2 separate regions of the Homo sapiens genome follow, and region 1 is linked to region 2. The links are contacts of gene promoters, found by promoter capture Hi-C in blood cells and fetal thymus (Javierre and others, 2016). All regions are on one chromosome and are shown on one strand. The core of a region is centred on a gene start or on the middle of the fragment in contact, and the rest is flanking DNA. Distances in the headings are between cores, read along the strand shown. Region 1 has its middle 96 kb from the start of MIR5706. Region 2 holds the start of DTWD2 (DTW motif tRNA-uridine aminocarboxypropyltransferase 2).

Region 1 (2,925 bases), core at 148-2,647, 260 kb after region 2:
AGGAGGATGGAATAACTTTCCCGAATACCCTGTTCTTTTCTACCGTCTTTTTAAGTTGATAGGTAAGCAGCATTCAAGGAAGGTGGGAATAAAAATTGTTGAAATGTTTAAATATAAAATGATATACATATATGTAAAATTTCATTATCCACATTAATGGAGTGGATACATCAAAATACATTTTTTAATTGTGTGTTTCCTAAGAATGTGGCTTTGTGATCATATAAGGATTCACAACATTAACAAATCTTATTTTCTGATATCTAGGATTTTTCTTAACTAAAACCATGGACCAGTCATCTCCATCCTCCTTTCTTGCTCTTTGCCCTTGCCCTCCCTTCTTTGAAAAAAAAAATATTTTTTAGAAGAATTGCAGAAATTTCTCACATTGGTCCCAACAATGGAAACACAATACAAAGACACATTCAAAGAAAAGTCTATACAACCTTAGGGTGGAAGTGATCTTTTTAACAAGATTGGAAACACAGACATATTTTACTTAATAAAAAATTTAAATGTCATATGGCAGGGACCACAGTCAAAGTTAAAACAACAAGTAGACTAGAAGAAATATTTGTATAGTAATAGGAAACATGTCAGTGTCCCTGTATACAAAGAGAAGTTTAAGTTATTGGAGAAGTGGTCACACTGTGAATAAGCAATTCACAGAACAGGACATTGAAAAAGTCAACAAATATAAAGTGTGTTCATCTTCATTATAAGGGTTAATGGATTGTTTTTTAAAAAGTATTACTGTAATACTAGTTTTTATCAGATTGGTTTAAGGTTAAATAGTGACAATATCCATTTTGGTGAAGATGCAAGGAAATTGGCAGAAACATTGCTGGCAAAGTTATCTGGGTGTGAATTAAAATCAAATACACATAACTTTCAGTGAACAACCTTCTGAGAAATTATAAAAATAAAAGCTTCCATGCATAAAAATGTAAGGACACAGATGTTTATTGAAACATATTCTAGAGGCCAGATGTGTTGGCTCACACCTGTAATCTCAGCACTTTAGGAGGCTGAAGCAAGCACAGGTCACTTGAGGTCAGGAGTTTGTGGCCAGCCTGGCCAACATGGTGAAACCCATCTCTACTAAAAATACAAAAATTAGTGGAGTATGGGGTTGTGTGCCTGTAGTCCCAGCTACTCAGGAGGCTGAGGCAGGAGAACCACTTGAACCCAGGAGGTGGAGGTTGCAGTGAGCCGAGATCATGCCACTGCACTCCAGCCTGGGTGACAGAGCAAAAGTCTGTCTCAAAAAATAAAAATGAAAAAAAAAAAAAAAAAAAAACTGGAAATCTAAATGTTAATTAGCAAGTAAATGGTTGAATAAATTATGGTACATACATGTAATATTATAGAATATTCTCTCACCACTAAAAAGAATGTTAGATATGTATATGTTGGCCTGAGAAGAGGCTGATGAGGAAAAAAAATTACAGAGCAAAAGATACAATATCCTAATTGTTTAGACTTTTTAAAATATATATGAACAAAGAAATGCATGTGGAAAAAATACACAAAACTTTTAGCATTGGGAAAAGGAAGAAGGCTGTAATATTTTCCCAAACTCCTTTAAACCTCACTCAGTAAAGTAATACCAAAGATAGTTTTGTTGAATGTGTGTACGTGGGAAAAACAGCTTTATTTTTAAACCAAGTAGTACTTCATGACTTTGGGAGCTGCTCTGTTGAATAAAGTGATCTGGTGTCAGGAACACTCCTCTTTGAATTGTTGAGATATTTTTGGTGAAATTTATTTAAGCTGAATGTTAAAATGTTACCCTTTGGAGCAGGAGTCCCCAGCCCATGGGTGACAACTGGTACCGGGTTGCACAGCAGGAGGTGAGTGTTGGGCAAAGCTTCATGTGTATTTATAGCTGCTCCCCATTGCTTGCATTACCACCTGAGCTCCGCCTCCTGTCAGATCAGTGGAGGCATTCGATTCTCATAGGAGCAGGAACCCTACTGTGAACTGCGCATGCAAGGGATCTAGGTTGTGTGCTCATTATGAGAGTGATGCCTGATGATCTGTCACTGTCTCCCATCACCCCCAGATGGGACCATCCAGTTGTAGGAAAACAAGCTCAAGACTCCCACTGATTTTATGTCATGGTGAGTTGTATAATTATTTCATCATATATTACAATGTAATAATAAACTGCACAATACGTGTAATGCGCTTGAATCATCCTGAAACCATCTGGCTCCATGGAATAACTGTCTTCCCACGAAACCAGTCCCTGGTGCCAAAAGGGTTGGGGATTGCTGCATTGGAGTACCTGGAAAAAGTTGATCATAGATTATTTGAATGTGCCTGTTAGTATTCTAGAAATGTGTGTAGATTTCAGTCCAGTTATTTTCAAAGCTGAATCTGTTTTTGAGCTTTTCAAGATGTTTTTTCTTTCTGCTTGGCTGTCATTGCACATATATGGTCCATTACTCAAGGAACTAACACTGAGAGTGTCACATTGTTTCACAGGGGTCCTTGGAACAAAAACACTTTTAAGTTCTTCCACTGCAAATACAGATGACTAATAGAAACAATTGGTGTGACAACACATTTCACTCCACAGTGGAAAAAATGCTTTATTCATGGACAATCAATTTTCTATGCAATGTACAGGTATGACCTGTGTAACAGAACTCAGCCAGTATGGTGTATCCCTGGACATACGTTAAATAAGTTTTAAAAATCCTTTGGAATCTACTCTTAGCATCATTTCTGAAATTGCAGCATATTTGTTTTCTGAAGCCATACCTTTTTTTTTTTTTTTTCAGTTTATTCTGAACACAAGCAAAGATAATTCCTTAAAATAGGATCTGGTTGTCTGTATTTGGGTTGTTTCATTCTGTGTTTTGCAGAAAATGCATCAGATTACTATGGCCATTCAGACATGAAGATAACTAAGCAAGC
Region 2 (2,841 bases), core at 165-2,664:
AGTATCCTATTGAGACCCCTCCAAACATTTTTAAATGCTTCCCCAACCCCCTCAGACGACTTGTTTAAATTAATTGTATTCACAAACCCCTATGTTCAAATTCACAGTCCCTTCTAATCACAAATTTTCCATCCTCCTCAGAGGTTTACTGAGCGTCAACTATACATAGTACATTTAGAAAATATAAAAACATTCTACATTCAAGATCCTTTCCTCTGAAGTCTTACAATCCAGCCCTAGGAAAAGGTCAAAATGTCCAAAGTGTGATACTCCAAGTATTCAAGCAGTAAAGATCTTCAACCATATTCAGTCCTTCTGTTCCCCTTCTTGGAATGCTTTTCCCCTGGCTGGATTCTTCTCATCTTTCAAATCTCAGAGATAGTTCATGACACCATTGAGCTATTTTCTACAGTAGCAACCCATTCCTTTCCTTCACTGCTTTTTTCCCAGTTTGTAATTACATATTTGATTGCTTGTTTGCTGGTTTATTATCCGTATCCAGTAAGAGAATACTCTACAAAAACATGAACTCCACTGCATTGTCAGTGATTACCAAAGCACTCAATAAACACCTGATAAATTAATGCACAGGTCTGGTGTTCCGAAGAAAGGTCTGAGCTAGACACACTGGGATATAGATGATAATTTACCATGAAAACTGATTTTATAAATTACCAGTGGGACGTATGTAGGGTTTGAAGAGAACCTAGAATGAACACCTGAAAAGGCCCTATATTTAGAGTTCTGGTAGGATAGGTAAAGGAGACTGTCTCTCTCCTCCAATCCACTTTATGCTTTTTAACTGTGATATAACTATGCCACTTAAATATGACTGTGTAACTATTTTACAAGTATTACTGTCATCACCCCTTACTTCCCCTATTGGACGCTTAAGTTTCTTGGAAACAGAACTGATGTCTGCTCATCCCATGATACGCTCAGCATATTGCAGGAAGTAAGGTTAGATAATCATGAACCTGGAAAAAGGGCTTCTTACTAGGTAGCTGTGCCTGGCATTTCCGAGATTTCCAACGTGCACCCGCCAACTCCGCCGCCCTAATCGCAGAGCTGCCCGAGCCGCCGACTCCCCGGCAGGGGGCGCCGCACCCTCCTCCGAAGGCCGCTGCCGGCTGCAGTCCCCGCCCCCAGCCCCGCGGTCACCTGCAGCGGGTGCACTCAGGCCTCCGCTCGGCCGGCTCCACCGGCAGCTCCCACAGCCCGTCCGCACTGTCGTCGTCCGCCTCTGCGCCCAGGGCAGCCGCCGCCGGCACTGCGCCGCCCTCCCGCCGCTCCTTGTCGTTCGGCGTCTGAGAGCTTGAGGCCCCAGAAGGCCGCGCAACGGGCTCCTGGAGTGTTCGTGCCTCTTTCTGCGACTCCATGGCGGACACTCCGGTCAGGCCGTGGCATTGAAGCCCGGCTGCCGCCGGGGGGCGCCACGCGCTGTAGAAACCGGCCCGCGCCGCGTAGCGCAATGCCCGCACGCCACGTACGGGGGGCGGGTCTCCGAAGCCCAGGCTGGAGGTCCCACCCTGCCGCTGGGAAGGAACGAGCCCATTGGTCCGTGCCCAGTGGGACCGTTCACCTAGAACTGGGTAGGCAAGTGTGGGCAGTGTTGGAGTGCTGGTGAGGTTAAGTAGCGTCATTGGGAGAGGTAAGGGAAACCTCCCCGAGAGGACCCCAGTACCAAGCCCGAATTTAACTCCTTTAAAAGTTAAAATAAAATGGAATTCTGCATTTTCCGCCTTGGGATGGCAGTTTAAGAATTTGCAGGATTTCCACGCGTGCATGCATCGCAGGTGCGGCAGCTGATGCACTTATTATTTAAAGGCCAACAAAGGAGAGGTTATATCCACTGGGAACTACTCACAGCTGGTCCGTTTCCTTATGTGAATTTCCTGCTCTTCTATGTCTTGTGCTAATAAGACATCAAGCATGCTATTTTACACTGGACACCAGATATTTGTTAAATTAGATTTTTAGATCGTCCCCGATCAGGAAGCAATAGGAGAGCTGGCCCGGGGTACCAATAGGTTTTATGTATGAGGAAACAAGCCCTAGAAAGGTAACGTTGCCCAGGTATTTAACAACTACTGGATACGGCGGTATATAGCACAGCAGCTGTTTTTTAAAAGCCAAAATGAAATCTATGTTAGAATGAAGGCAGAAATACTATTTACCCAAAATGGGTATCGAATTCCTTTTGTTTATTAATGCTTTGTGTTACTTCCAGCAATACACAACATTAAAACAGAATTAAGCTTGGTTTTGATCAATCATGTGAATTAAGCTTAGGAATCACAGTTGTCTTAACTCTATAGTTGTAATAGATTAAATGTGAGGCAAAGTAGACAACACAGTAATAGAGCAAATACTGTATTTCTTAAAATGTTTATTTCACATTAGATTTTTCAGTCATCTTAAAATCAAGTTTGTGAATAAAATACCGTGCTGTTTTCAACTATCCTACGTTCTTTCCCCCCGGAAACAGCACCTCTCTTTTCCTTTGGAGCGTCCTATGTGAGGGATAGAAAAAGGCTGAAACACCCACCTGGTGATGGACGTAGAGTGGGAGAAAGAACTAGCAATTATGCCATTTGGAATCGGAGGATAAACAAAATCCAGAAACTGTAGGAAAGGAGATGAATCAGAAAATTCATCTTGTCTGTAGATTTAGGTTGGGGAACCAATTCTTTAACTGCCAAAATTAAATTCTCATGTGACTTATCTTTAAACGAAAGGAAGCTGCTCATCTTTAATTTCAAGAGGTGAAATGTGCTCAAGTCCTCTAAGGTCCCTTGAGACTCCCAATTGTGTGGTGTGAGAAGACAGATGATAAGGAAA

Evidence for each region. The method cuts DNA at HindIII sites, captures the fragments that hold promoters and counts their contacts. A CHiCAGO score of 5 or more calls a contact.
Region 1: a contact is called between a fragment that was not itself captured here and the fragment with the promoter of DTWD2 in region 2, in 15 of 17 cell types (naive B cells, non-activated CD4 T cells, fetal thymus and 12 more). The highest score is 10.7, in naive B cells.

The regions. Positions count from the first base shown.
Region 1 is chr5:119,249,232-119,252,156 of GRCh38, forward strand. No RefSeq gene overlaps it. Among named protein-coding and RNA genes, the nearest start is that of MIR5706, 96 kb to the left of the region's middle. The HindIII fragment of the contact is 941 bases long and covers 928-1,868 here.
Region 2 is chr5:118,987,133-118,989,973 of GRCh38, forward strand. DTWD2 (DTW motif tRNA-uridine aminocarboxypropyltransferase 2) reads right to left here and starts at 1,415. Exons shown (of 6, transcript NM_173666.4): 1 at 1,162-1,415. The coding sequence starts at 1,379. RefSeq lists a silencer at 999-1,328. The HindIII fragment of the contact is 4,492 bases long and covers 1-2,256 here.